3 separate regions of the Homo sapiens genome follow, and regions 2 and 3 are each linked to region 1. The links are contacts of gene promoters, found by promoter capture Hi-C in blood cells and fetal thymus (Javierre and others, 2016). All regions are on one chromosome and are shown on one strand. The core of a region is centred on a gene start or on the middle of the fragment in contact, and the rest is flanking DNA. Distances in the headings are between cores, read along the strand shown.

Region 1 (4,471 bases), core at 1-2,500:
TGTTGTTTTTGTTTTTTTGTTTTGTTTTTGTTTTTGAGACAAATTGAGGCTCTGTCACCTAGGATGGAGTGCAATGGAGCAATCTTGGTTCACTGCAACCTTCGCTTCTCAGGCTCAAGCCTTCCTCCCACTTCAGCCTCCCAAGTAGCTGGGACCACAGGTGCATGCATGCCACCACATCTGGCAAATTTTTGTATTTTTCATAGAGACAGGGTTTCCTCATGTTGGCCTGGCTGGTCTCAAACTCCTGAGCTCAGTGATTTCCCACCTCAGCCTCCTAAAATGTTAGGATTACAGATGTGAGCCACTGCATCCAGCCAAAATTTTAAAATTTAAAAAAATAATTTAAAATCTCCTGTCTCCATTAGGATGTCTCTCACACTACACCCTCCTTTTTTTTTTTTTAAATTTTTGAGATGGTGTCAAAAAATGACAGCCTCTGTCATTCAGGCTGGAGTGCAGTGGCGCCACCATAGGTCACTGCAGCCTCAAATTCCTGGGCTCCAGCGATCCTCCCACCTCACCTCCCTGGTGCCTTTTATTTTATTTTATTTTATTTTATTTTTGACCCTAAGTCTTGCTCTTGTCGCCCAGTCTGGAGTGCAATGGTGCGATCTTGGCTCACTGCAACTCCGCCTCCCAGATTCAAGCGATTCTCCTGCCTCAGCCTCCCAAGTAGCTGAGTAGTTGGGATTACAGGTGCCTGCGACCACGCCTGGCTAATTTTTGTATTTTTAGTAGAGACTGGGTTTCACCATGTTGGCCAGGCTGGTCTCGAATTCCTGGCCTCAAGTGATCCTCCCGCCTCAGTCTCCCAAAGTGCTGGGATTATAGGCGTGAGCCACCGCGCCCAGCCCCTGGTGCCTTCTTTAACACTGGGTGGGAAGAGAGTGTCCTGGCGAGGCCTCTGCACACCGACTGCATTTCCCAGATCCAAACTAATAACCTCCCTTGCCCCAGGCGCCTTCCAGGGCTGACATGCCTCCTCTCGCAAGTGGGGGAAACAGATGTCCCCGGGGGCTGGGGATAGGGGCGGGGGTGTGGGGAGGTGAGGGGCGAGGGGAAGGGGGGGAGGGGGGCGAAGGGGGCGGGGAGGAGGGGGAGCCGGCCGGGAGACGGCCCGGCCCAGCCGCCCGGGCTGTTGCCTCCGCTGCGGGCGTTCCTCCAGGCCTGCGGAGGGCGCTGCGGGCGCGGGGCTGGGCCGCTCTGGCTGGCGGGCGAGCAGAGAGGCGCCTCGGTGGCGGTGCGCTGTCCAGCATTTCAGCAAGCGGCGGCAGCACCCGCGGGGAGGCAGAGGGTGCGGGGCCGTGGGGGCCGCGGAGCTGCCCTGCCCAACTCAGCCCAGACTAGGCGGCAGCCCGGACCGGCGGGACCCGAGGGCCTGGCCCCAGCGCCCGGTAGATCGCGGCGGTCAGCGGTGAGGTGAGAGCGCCTGTGGGGCGGGGGCATATCCCCGAGGGGCTGGGGCTGGGTGGAAGCTCGGGCCTCCCCAGCACCCCCGTGGTCTGCAGGCTCCCCCGAGCAGAGGGGCAGTGTGGGAGGTCGGCGAGGGCGTCTGTCCGGGGGTGCCAGGCGCCCGGGGAGCAGAGATGAGGAACATTCATTTCACTGAGAGGGATGGAGACAGTGGAGACCTTTGGGGTCATGGGCAGGACTCCCCTGGGCATAAATGACCATGGCCTAGTCCATGAGGGTGCCAGGGAGGCCCCCCAACCGCAGTCCCACTGAGGAGAAGGACCTGCTCCCCAGGGAAGGGAGGACCGATGCAGTAACCCTGTGGAGATGCTGGTCACTGGCCCTGGTGAAGGGAGCAGGCCCCCACCTGGATGCTGGGCCTCTGTCCAGCAGGAGGTGCCGGCCCAGGGGACAGCCTGGCCCCTTTCCCGGCTACCCAAATGCCCCTAGGGAGGCAGGAGCTGGCAAGGAGAACTGGGTCTCACAGGATGGCATTTACTCTTGCACTGGGAAGAGGATGGAGGACACAGAAGAGAAAATAGCTACTAGGAATTTGGGAGGGGGTTCTCTGTGCACACCCCCCACCCCAACCACGGACGCCCAGAGAGAGTTTCTAGCCCAGAGTTAGACCTGCGCCAGAGTGAATTCCTGGTAAAGAAGAGAGCTGAGAAAAGACGCAGCCTCTGCCTTGCCTCCGCCTCCCCCTCCCTCCCAGGGCTCCTGCCTGGACAGTGTTGAAGCCTCCTGCAGTTCCTACTCCTGACAGCAGATCCATTGTGGGGAGAGATTTAGTGGGAGGAAGGGAAGGTTGTACCAAGGTCTGACGTGGTACTTCAATGCCTGTGCCCTATCCCAGCCATAACTTCTCGCTGTCCTAAGACCTCACTCACCCTAGCATCGGGGGCTTGAGCTGGTCTTTTGTCCCATGGCAAGAGAAAAGGCAGGTGCTGGGCTTTGACGGAGAGACGTGCACAAGTTCCTCTGTCCAGGGAGCATCTTAAGGTCATGGCCCCAGTTTGTGCCAGCTTCTTCCTCAGTCAAAAATAGGACCCAGCTGGCTAGGAAATTGTTCCCACACAGCAGTAGCTTTCTGGTTCCTTAACTTTATGCCCCATCCCACTCTCCTGTGGGGTGGAGGAGGTATTCTTGAAGACTGACTAAAGAGTCAACTGGGTTTTAAGAGGTAGGGGTATGTGGGTTGGGAGTCATGGACTCTGATGTCAGAAAGACATGGGATCAAATCTAGGTTATGTGACCTCAGGTAAGCCATTGACCTTTCTGAGTCTGTTTTCAATCTGTAAAACAGGTGTAGTGTTAGCAATGTCTACTTTGCTGTTGAAAGAAATAATCTGGATAAGGAGATGGGAGACTACTTTTACGGTATAAAATGCTGGGTGAGTGTTAGTAAATAGGAGACAAGTAAGAATTTCTTAAAGAAGAGCTGGATAAATGTGGAATAGTGTTCAGTGATATTTGAAGCACATTTTTCTGTTCCCAGAGGAGATGAACAGTGGTTGAGAGCCTCATGCCCAGCTCCATGCTGGGCACAATGCAACGGTTGACTCAGCTAATCCTCACAGAAGCTTCATGAGGAAGGCATCATTGTCCCTATTTCATAGCTGAGAAATGAAGCTTGAGTGACTTTCCCAAGGTCATGAAGCCACTCGCGCTGTCCTCCTGGAGGCAGGAGAGTTACTGATGACCTGTCCCATCCTCTGAGTATCAAGGCCCAGTTCAATGCCAGTGTCTTGATTTATGATGCCAGCTTTACAGGTGGGGAGCCTGAGGCAGGTGGGTGAGGGCATACAGTGCAGTAAGGAGGTGACTCCCACAAGGTCACTGGGATACTTAGAGGTAGAATGTGCCTTGAACCGGCCAGCGGGGTGCCTCTACCCCGTCACACCTGCCAAAGGGGGGGTCTGGGTCTGACAGTCCCATCTGCTCACTGCTGCACCCGTTCTGCACCTCCTCTGCCTCCCAACCTCTTGCTGACCTCTGCCAGCCAGTGACTGCTCCTTCCTTTCTTAGTGGTTCACCCTCACCTCCTGAGATGGTCCATGGCCAGGAGCAGCTACTAGCGCTGCTGGGGTCAGCCTCCCTTCCTGACTTTTCTCCCTCCTCTGCCCATATTTTATTGTCCCCCAGGGACAAAATCATAGCTCTTCCTGTCTCAGAAGCCTTCCAGGGGCACCAATGGGGAGGTTAGAGAAGCCCAGCCCCTCTTTCTTCACTCCTACACATACACTGAGCCTCTGCCCATGGTCCTGTAACTTCGTATACATGATCTCATCTCATCCTCACATAACCTGGACCCAAAGGTGCTGCTGTCTCCCTTTCACATAGGAGAAAAACAAGGCCTGAAGGTGTGATGGGACTTTCCCAAAGTCACAGAGCAAGGTCTTGGTGCAACCCAACCCCACTGCCTCAGGACCCCAGGATGACTTCCACAACACCACTCTGCCCCCGATTCTCCAGGCTCCCCAGGGCGAGAATCAATCCAGGCACTGTAGGCCAGTGAGTGTTGGAGAGGTGGGTGGCACATGGTGAAGGCAACTGAAGGACTCTTGAACATGAGTCCAAGGACCTTCTTTCTGGCCCTATCTCTGATCCTGGCTCCCTGTATGACCTTGAAGGGGTCCCTTCCCACCTCTTGGCCTCAGTGTCCCCAACCCTAAAATGATGGGGTTTAATGCCAGGTGCAGTGGCTCACACTTGTAATCCTAACACTTTGGGAGGCCAAGGCAGGAGGATCCCTTGAGGCCTGGAGTTCAAGACCAGCCTGGGCAACATAGTGAGACCCCATCTCTACAAAAAATTATAAAAAGAAAGCTATTCTCCTCTGAACATCGCTTCTCCCAGCTCCTTTCTCCTCACTCAGCCTCCTGCCCCTCAGTGAGTTCCCCCTCTTGATCCCCTCTCTCCTCATTGAACCCTCCCCCATCTCTGATCCGCTCCCCTCCGCAACTCCTTCACTGAGCCAAGGTGTTGGAACTGAGAAGGAAATTCACCTCCATTT
Region 2 (4,471 bases), core at 802-3,301, 330 kb before region 1:
AACCTCAGGTGATCCACCTGCCTCAGCCTCCCAAAGTGCTGGGATTACAGGCACGATTTTGTTTTTATTAATATTTTGATAACTACAGGCTTCCTTGGTAATTCAGTGTATTTTATTTTATCCATTTAAAAAGCAACATTCTTGGCCAGGTGTGGTGGCTCACTCCTTTAATTCCAACACTTTGAGAGACCCAGGCAAGAGGATTGCTTGAGGCCAGGAGTTGGAGACCAGACTAGACAACATAGTGAGCCCCTGTCTCTACAAAAAAAAAAAAAAAAAATACAAAAATTAGCCAGGTGTGGTGGCACGTGTCTGTAGTCCTAGGTACTCGGGATGCTGAAGCAGGAGGATCGCCTGAGCCCAGGAGTTGGAGGCTGCAGTGAGCTATGATTGTACCAGTGCACTCCAGCCTGGGCAACAGAATGAGACCCTGTCTCAAAAAAAAAAAAAAAAAAAAAAAAGCATCATTTACATGAGGAGTCCCTAGGTTTCATCAGATATGTCAGATATGACAAAAAGGAGTAAGAACTTCGGCCAAAAGCCAAAAAATTCAAAGAGCCTGCCTGCCTGCCTCCCTTCCTTCCAGACATTTCCTGAAGGCCTACTCTGTGCAGGACTCTACATGGTGCTGTCCCTCAAGAAGCTCACAGTCTGGGAAGAGAGACAGACACAACAAACAGGATTTTTTTAAAAATATTTTTTTAAATATAATAGAAATGGGGGTCTCACTATGTTGTCCAAAGGCTAGTCTCTAACTTGTGGGCTCAAGCAATCCTCCTGCTTTGGCCTCCCAAAGTGCTGGGATGACAGGTGTGAGCCACTGCACCCAGCCTTTCTTTTTTGTTTGTTTGTTTGTTTGTTTGTTTGTTTGTACAGACAGGGGTCTCACTATGTTGCCCAGGCTGGTCTCAAACTCTTGGGCTCAAGTGATCCTCCTGCCTGGGCCTCCCAAAGTGCTGGGATGACAGGCGTGAGCTGCTGTGACTGGCCAAAAACCAGGAAGTAAATACCGTGTTATACTTGCCATGGTAGAGATGTGTGTAGTGGTAGAAATAGAACAACCTGGCTGGGCACAGGGGCTCACGCCTGTAATCCCAGCACTTTGGAAGGCCAAGGCAGGTGGATCATGAGGTCAGGAGATCGAGACCATCCTGGCTAACATGGTGAAACCCCGTCTTTACTGAAAATACAAAAAAATTAGCCAGACGTGGTGGCGGGCGCCTGTAGTCCCAGCTACTCGGGAGGCTGAGGCAGGAGAATGGCGTGAACTCGGAAGGTAGAGTTTGTAGTGAGCCAAGGTCGCACCACTGCACTCCAGCCTGGGCGACAGAGCGAGACTCCGTCTCAAAAAAAAAAAAGAAATAGAACAACTTGGCCAGGTGCAGTGGCGCACGCCTATAATCCCAGCACTTTGGGAGGCCAAGGCAGATGGATCACTTGAGGCCAGGAGTTTGAGAGCAGCCTGGCCAACATGGCGAAACCCTGTCTCTACTAAAAATACAAAAATTAGCAGGGCGTGGTGGCATGTGCCTGTAATCCCAGCTACTGGGGAGGCTAAGGCAGGAGAATCACTTGAACCTGGGAGGTGGAGGTTGCAGTGAGCCAAGATCACGCCACTGCACTCCAGCCTGGGCGACAGAGTAAGACTCTGTCTCAAAAAAATAAAAAGAAATAGAACAACTTTAGAGATCTAATGACCCAAGTTCAAATCCTAGCTCTTCCACTAACTCACAGTGTGACCTCCTCACATCCTATTCGTCCCTCGGTCAATCTTATCTGTTTTCTTCATCAAAACCCTGCAAGATAAGACTTAGTTCCCATTTTATAGATGAGGAAACTGAGGCTCCCTTACCCAAGATCACTCAGGCAGCGAGTGAAAGAGCCAGGGTGAGGTCCTGCTTCCTCCTGACTTCCAGCCTGAGCTCCACCAGCTCCACACTGGCTGCTTCTCAAATGCTAATGTAGGAGCCATTAATGTCTCCTTTAAGGGAACATTAAAGGAAATGGCCAGTATAACATGGTATTTATCTCCTGGTTTTTGGCTTGGCTCATGCCTGGAATCCCAACACTTTGGGAGGCCCAGGCACGAGGATCACTTGAGCCCAAGAGTTTGAGACCAGCCTGGGCAACATAGTGAGACCTCTGTCTGTACAAACAACAACAACAAAAAGGCCCAGTGGGCTGGGCGTGGTGGCTCAAGCCTGTAATCCCAGCATTTTGGGAGGCTGAGATCTCAGGCGGATCACCTGAGATCGGGAGTTCGAGACCAGCCTGACCATCATGGTGAAACCCCGTTTCTGCTAAAAATGCAAAATTAACCGGGCATGCTAGCGCATGCCTGTAATCCTAGCTACTCGGGACGCTGAGTCAGGAGAATCGCTTGAACCGGGGAGGCGGAGGTTGCGGTGAGCCAAGATCACACCATTGCACTCCAACCTGGGGAACAAAAGCGAAACTCAGTCTCAAAAAAAAAAAAAAAAAGTGCAGTGTCTCACACCTGCAATCCTAGGTTTCCCTTAAGGGAAACGTGAATATCTCCTGCAACTGCCCTCTCCGAGCCTAAACCCTCTGCACAGCAAATGCAGAAAACTCTTTCTACAGAGAGCTAGGTGGGCTGACTGGCCATGCCATCCTAGACTGGTGTACCTCAGGTCTCCTCTTCAAAAAATATCTTGAAATTCTTGCCAGAAATTCAGTGTGAAATGCATTCGGGATGGTGGCTGTTGTTATAACAGTCCCCAGGGGTCTCAATTACGTGAGAACCCTCGGCTTCTGGACAAGAGACAAGGAAGGGAAGTAGGTCACATCCCAAAGGCATCAGGGCTAATAACTTTGCATTGAACATTTTCTGTGGCCCCACTGTGTGCTAGGTGCCAGGGCTGTGGATACAGACACAGGTATAAATCAGACATGGCTTCTGCCCTTGGTAAGCTCACAATTACGGGCACAAATATGCAATGATAGTATAATATGGGAAGTGCCTCAGGAGGCTGAGGCAGCGAACTGCTTGAACCAGGGAGGAGGAGGTTACAGTGAACAGACATTACAGCACTGCACTCCAGCCTGGGTGACAGAGCAAGACTTCGTCTCAAAAAAAAAAAAAAAAAATTCCTGGAAGACTTGTTGCCTAATTTTAAGTTACTTAACTTCTCTGTATCTCCATTGCTTCATCTGTAAAACGGGCGTAATTACAGAACCAGCCTCACAAGGGTTGTGAAAATGTAATGAGTAACTACATAAAAAGCACACAACAGGCTAGGCATGGTGGCTCACACCTGTCATCCCAGCACTTTGGGAGGCCAAGGCGGGACGATTGCCTAAGCCCAGGAGTTCAAGACCAGCCTGGGCAACAGAGCAAGATCCCATCTCTACAAAAAAGAAGCAGCTAGCTAGGTGCGGTAGCACGCACCTGTGGTTCCAGCTACTTGGGAGGCTGAGGCAGGAGGATACCATGAGCCCGGGAGGTCAAGGCTGCAGTGAGCTATGATTGTGCTACTGAAGCAGGACACACAAGCCCCAAAATTTAGCCTCCTTCCTTCAGAGCCAGCAGGAGCTTCTAAGCTATGGGGGGCAGCAGTTACAGCTGAGTCAAACCAAAGCCTGCAGCCAAGGGCAAGGAGCTGATAACACTAGGGTGGGTGTGTGGGGAAGGAGCCAAATACTTCTACCATGTGAGGGGAGGGAGTACTGGGCAGGGTCACTGGAGAAAGCGAAAAAGGTAGTACCCTTGAAGGTACTGCTGGGCACAGTGGCTCATGTCTGTAATTCCAGGACTTTGAGAGGTCAAGGCAGGCTTATCACCTGAGGTCAGGAGTTCGAGACCAGCCTGGCCAATGTGGTGAAATCCCATATCTACTAAAAATGCAAAAATTAGCTGGGCGTGGTGATGCACACCTGTAGTCCCAGCTACTTGGGACTCGGGAGGCTGAGGCACAAGAATCACTTGCATCTGGGTGGCAGAGGTGGCAGTGAGCAGAGATCACGCCACTGCACTCCAGCCTGGGTGACAGAGTGAGACTCTTGTCAAAAAAAAAGGAAGGTCTACCTTAAACAGCTGTTCTCCAGCAAAAGCACTTTTCAAACTGTAAAGTGCTGAAATAGATCTCGGTTATGAGTGTTCTATTACATCCCTAACTTTTGAGTCCCTTCCATTGAATCCCTCTCCCGTTTCCTGTCCCTTTTCCTTTTTTTTTTTTCCGAGATACAGTCTTGCTCTGTCACCCAGGCTGGAGCGCAGTGGTGCGATCTCGGCTTGCTGCAACCTCCGCCTCCTGGGTTCAAGCGATTCTCCTGCCTCAGCCTCCGGAGTAGCTGGGATTACAGGCACGCGCCACCATGCCGGGTTAATTTTTGTAGTTTTATTAGAGACGGGGTTTCACCATGTTGGCCAGGCTGGTCTCTAATTCTTGACCTCGTGATCCGCCCGCCTCGGCCTCCCAAAGTGCTGGGATTGCAGGCGTGAGCCACCGTG
Region 3 (4,471 bases), core at 522-3,021, 280 kb before region 1:
TTACTGTAGCCCCTTGTCACTTCCTGCTGCGCTGACCCGTAATTGACCCATAATTCTCCCTCTCTTCCCCTCCCTACCACGTTCCAAGATCTGTCCATGGTACCATTGCTGGTTGATCTTGGAACCCTGCTTCGGTCACCCCTCCTTTCTCTTCGCCCAGACTGGAGTGCAGTGGCACGATTTGGCTCACTGCAACCTCCACCTGTCAGGTTCAAGTGATTCTCCTGCCTCAGCCTCCCGAGTAGCTGGCACTACAGGCACGTGCCTCCACACCTAGCTAATTTTTGTATTTCTAGTAGAGACAGGGTTTCACCATGTTGGCCAGGCCAGTCTCGAACTCCTGGCCTTAAGTGGTCCACCCAGCTCAGCCTCCCAAAGTGCTGGGATAATAGGCAGGAGCCACTGTGCCCGGTCACTGTCACTGTCTTATTGCATGTTTTCTTCTTCATCTGCTTTCATAAAGGATAAACAGTGACTTAATAAAAGGTGTCTAATTCTCCCCTCCCTAGTGGCAATACGGTTGGACTAGAAGGTGAATTCAGTTGAGAACAGGGAACCTATCATTTCTGCGAGTGTAAGCTGGGGCATAGAACAATGCCAGGCATAAGGTAGGCACTTGGATGAATGGATGAATGAATAAATATGGCTTCTGTCCCCCAAGTTTACTGCTGAGCTTTCTCCTGCATATTGACTGAGCTCAGATGTCAAAATTGGGTCTGATCTGTAGTTTTTTTTTTTTTTTTTTTTGAGACAGAGCCTGTCACTCTGTCGCCCAGGCTGGAGTGCAGTGGCGCAATCTTGGCTCACTGCAACCTCTGCCTCCTGGGTTCAAGCAATTCTCGTGCCTCAACCTCCTGAGTAGCTGGAATTATAGGTGTGTGCCATCATGCCTGGCTAATTTTTTGTAATTTTAGTACAGATGGGGTTTCACCATGTTGCCCAGCTGGTCTCGAATGCCTGACCTGAAGCAGTCTGCCCGCCTCGGCCTTCCGAAGTGCTGGGATTACAGGCGTGAGCCACTGCGCCTGGCCTGGTCTGTACTTCTGAAGATTATTCCAAAGTACAGTAGGAACTTTTGGTAGGACTTTAGTTTTCCATCCAGGTATAAAATTTTGTGTCAGTGGTGGGGTTGCGCATGTTCAGTAGCTGCAACACTAGAAAGATGGCAAAGCAGGAGCAAAGAAAAATCCCTTTGGCTCCAGAAAATCTCCTGAAAGCAGAAGGCTTATCAAGGCCTCAAAGCCACCCAGTCAAAGTAGGCACTTTTGGCAAAGGAGGAGCAGAGGGAAGGAAAAGAGCTCAGGTTTAAACGACTGGAATCATTCCTACATGATTCCTGGCGGCAGAAACATGACAAGGTGTGTCTCAGACGACTAGAAGTAAAACCTCACACCTTGGAATCGCCAGATAAACATTCCTTGGCCTTTGTTGTACGCGTCGAAAGGATTGATGGTGTGAGTTTACTGGTGCGGAGAGCCATTGCAAGACTTAAACCTAAAAATGCAGCGTATAGTATGTAACCTTATGTGACCTGGGGATTTCCAAATCTGAAGTCTGTCCAGAAACTCATTTTGAAACGTAGACAAGCCAAGGTCAAGAATAAGACCATCCCTCTGACAACACAGTGATTGAGGAGCACCTGGGAAAGCTTGGTGTCTTTTGCTTGGAAGACCTCATTCATGAAATTGCCTTCCCAAGGAAGCATTTCCAGGAGATCTCATGGTTCTTGTCCCCTTTCCACCTCTCAGTGGACTGTCATGCTACCAAAAATAGTGGACTTTCTGAAGGAGATTGGCACACCTCCATCTTCTTGGGGGTGTGTGCATCAATCAGCTCATCCGCCAGCTGAACTAGAGCCAGGTGCCAAACTACAGTAAATTTTTATCAATGAACTGGAAGCTTGTGTTATTTTTGGGGGCGGGGTGGAATTTTTATCAAGTATCTTCAGAGAAGATTATTTCCTGCTTTATCTTCAAAAACTGTAAAGGAAGGGTCAAAGGAAAGACAGTGGCTGGCCGGGCCCGGTGGCTCACGCCTATAATCCTAGCACTTTGGGAGGCTGAGGCGGGCAGATCACCTGAGGTCGGGAGTTCGAAACCAGCCTGACCAACATGGAGAAACCCCGTCTCTACTAAAAATACAAAAATTAGCTGAGCGTGGTGGCACACGCCTGTAATCCCAGCTACTGGGGAGGCTGAGGCAGGAGAATCGCTTGAACCCGGGAGGCGGAGGTTGTGGTGAGCCAAGATCAGACCTTTGTCCTCCAGCCTGGGCAACAAGAGCGAAACTCCATCTCAAAAAAAAAAAAAAAGAAAAGAAAAGACAGTAGCTTACGTTCATGGCGGCACCTCTCATCACAGTCCAGTTCCAAGGAAAAATTCCAGCGTTTTCTACGTTGGCTGCTGCCTTGTCTGAAATCACATTTTGTGGAGAAAGGAGTCTTGCTTTGTTGCATCTTCTATCCTAGGGTTTAATGTTGGTGAATGAGTAACTCTAGCATTTGTACAAGGCTCCCTAAGAGTCCTGCAGCAGTCGACCAAGCCCGGGGACATAATTGAATCCGGAGATTCCTGGGGCCTTGAAAAAGGCTTGAAATATACATAGGAAGAAAGGCACAAAAATAAATGCTCACTTGTCTCTGCAAAAAAAAAGAAAAGAAAAATTGTGTCTCAAGTTCCTTCTGTAGTTGATAATTTATTCAGTAATCATTTTATAATTGAAGAAGAATATTCTGACTCTAAATCTTTCTAGATCAGTTACCTGGATGCTGAAGACATGAATAAATTTGTTTATTTTAAAAATCCTAGGGCCTGGCACAGTGGCTCATGCTTATAATCTTAGCACTGTGGGAGGCCGAGGTGGACGGATCACTAGAGCCCAGGAATTCAAGACCATCCTGGGCCACATGGCAAAACACCATCTCTATTTAAAAATTAGTGTTTTTAAACATCAGTGTTTAAAAATTAGCTGGGTGTGGTGGTGTGTACCTGTCATCCCAACTACTTGGGAGGCTGAGGTGGGAGGATCACCTGAGCCCAGGGAGGTTGAGGCTGCAGTGAGCCATGATCAGACCACTGCACACCAACCTGGGTGATAGAGTGAGACCCCCATCTCAAAATATACAGTAATAAATGAAAAATAGAAAATTCCCCAAATAAATAAATAATAGAAAATTCTAATGAAAATAAAAGGAGTTGAGTGTAACCGTTGAGTGTCTGCGCTGGGTGTTTATGTCTCATGTAACCAACGTAGCACTGTGAGCATGGTCATCCCGGAGACGGACTGTGATAAATCGTGTGCCCAGGATCCCAGAGTGCATAGGTGGCATATCTAGGTTTTGAACCAAGGTCTGTTGGTCTTTTATAGCTCAACTGGGTTGTGAGTTTGTTGAATTTCACTTTCCATGCTTTCCCCAACCAAACCAAAAACCAGAGGGGGAACTGAAAGCTGAGAGCCTAGTAATTGAGAAAAGGACTCTGGGAGGTGATGGTGTCAAAAAGCAGTCCAGGGAAGCTCTTGTGGTTGAGCACACAGCTCTGCCCAGAGCTTCCTAGATGCCAAGGCAAAGAAGGATGGGGTTACATAGCAGTTATTGGAAAAAGGAAGCTGACCAGTTTCTCATTAGTATTTTTCAGCTGGGCGCGATGGCTCATGTCTGTAGTCCCAGCACTCTGGGAGGCTGAGGCAGGAGGATCACTTGTGGCCAGGAGTTTGAGACCAGCCTGGGCAAGAGAGAGAGAGAGAGACCCTGTCCCTTCAACAAGAAAATACACATTTAAAATATTAGCCAGGCATGGTGGTGTGCACCTGTAGTCCCAGCTACTCAAGAGGCTGAAGCAGGACGATCGCTTGAGCCTGAGAGTTCAAGGCTGTAGTAAGCTATGATTGCACCACGACACTGCAGCCTGGGTGATGGAGCAAGACCCCATCTCTTAAATTTTTTTTAAAAAGTGCTTTTCCCTGGGCCTTTACACGAGGATCATTGAATAAAGCAGTGGTCAGCAGCCCATGTACTCAGCAAGTATTTGTAGAGCACCACGTATGTGCCAAGCTCTCTTCGAGGTGCTGGGACTACTTTTGTGTGTGGAAAAGACCAACAAGATGAAAGATGATGTTGGCCTAGGCCAGGGTGGAGGCACTGTTTTCAAGAACAGGAGTGTTCCCACAGGTGACCCTTTCTGGGTCCCATCTAGGTAAGAGGCTGAGAGGTTCAGGCTCGGTTGTAAATTCTGTAAGGGCAGTTCTTTGGGAGGTGTGAGCAAGAGAATGGAATCAGAGCGATTATTTTAGCAGGCAGGAGTGAAGCTTGAGAATCTGGCAGAGTGAGGAGCGATCTTGTGCCAGAGTGAGAGGCAGCCAGTCCAAAGTGAAGGTTCTGAAGCTCTTAGTACCTCCCACGTACAGTGTCCTGCTTTTTTTTCTTTCTCTTTTCTCTCTCTTTTTTTTTTTTTTTTTTTTTAAGGCAGGACAC

The links. The method cuts DNA at HindIII sites, captures the fragments that hold promoters and counts their contacts. A CHiCAGO score of 5 or more calls a contact.
Region 2: a fragment that was not itself captured here is called in contact with the fragment with the promoter of SRRM3 in region 1 in 2 of 17 cell types (M0 macrophages and naive CD4 T cells); the score reaches 6.0 in M0 macrophages.
Region 3: a contact is called between a fragment that was not itself captured here and the fragment with the promoter of SRRM3 in region 1, in 1 of 17 cell types (endothelial precursors). The highest score is 5.1, in endothelial precursors.

Annotation. Positions count from the first base shown.
Region 1 is chr7:76,200,646-76,205,116 of GRCh38, forward strand. It overlaps SRRM3 (serine/arginine repetitive matrix 3), which reads left to right and starts at 1,251. Exons shown (of 15, transcript NM_001110199.3): 1 at 1,251-1,422. RefSeq lists a silencer at 1,098-1,337. The HindIII fragment of the contact is 9,812 bases long and covers 1-3,036 here.
Region 2 is chr7:75,873,480-75,877,950 of GRCh38, forward strand. No RefSeq gene overlaps it. Among named protein-coding and RNA genes, the nearest start is that of RHBDD2, 3.3 kb to the right of the region's middle. The HindIII fragment of the contact is 6,386 bases long and covers 1-4,471 here.
Region 3 is chr7:75,921,593-75,926,063 of GRCh38, forward strand. The region is part of intron 1 of POR (cytochrome p450 oxidoreductase); the gene reads left to right. It also overlaps the pseudogene RPL7L1P3. Among named protein-coding and RNA genes, the nearest start is that of MIR4651, 8.6 kb to the left of the region's middle. The HindIII fragment of the contact is 251 bases long and covers 1,647-1,897 here.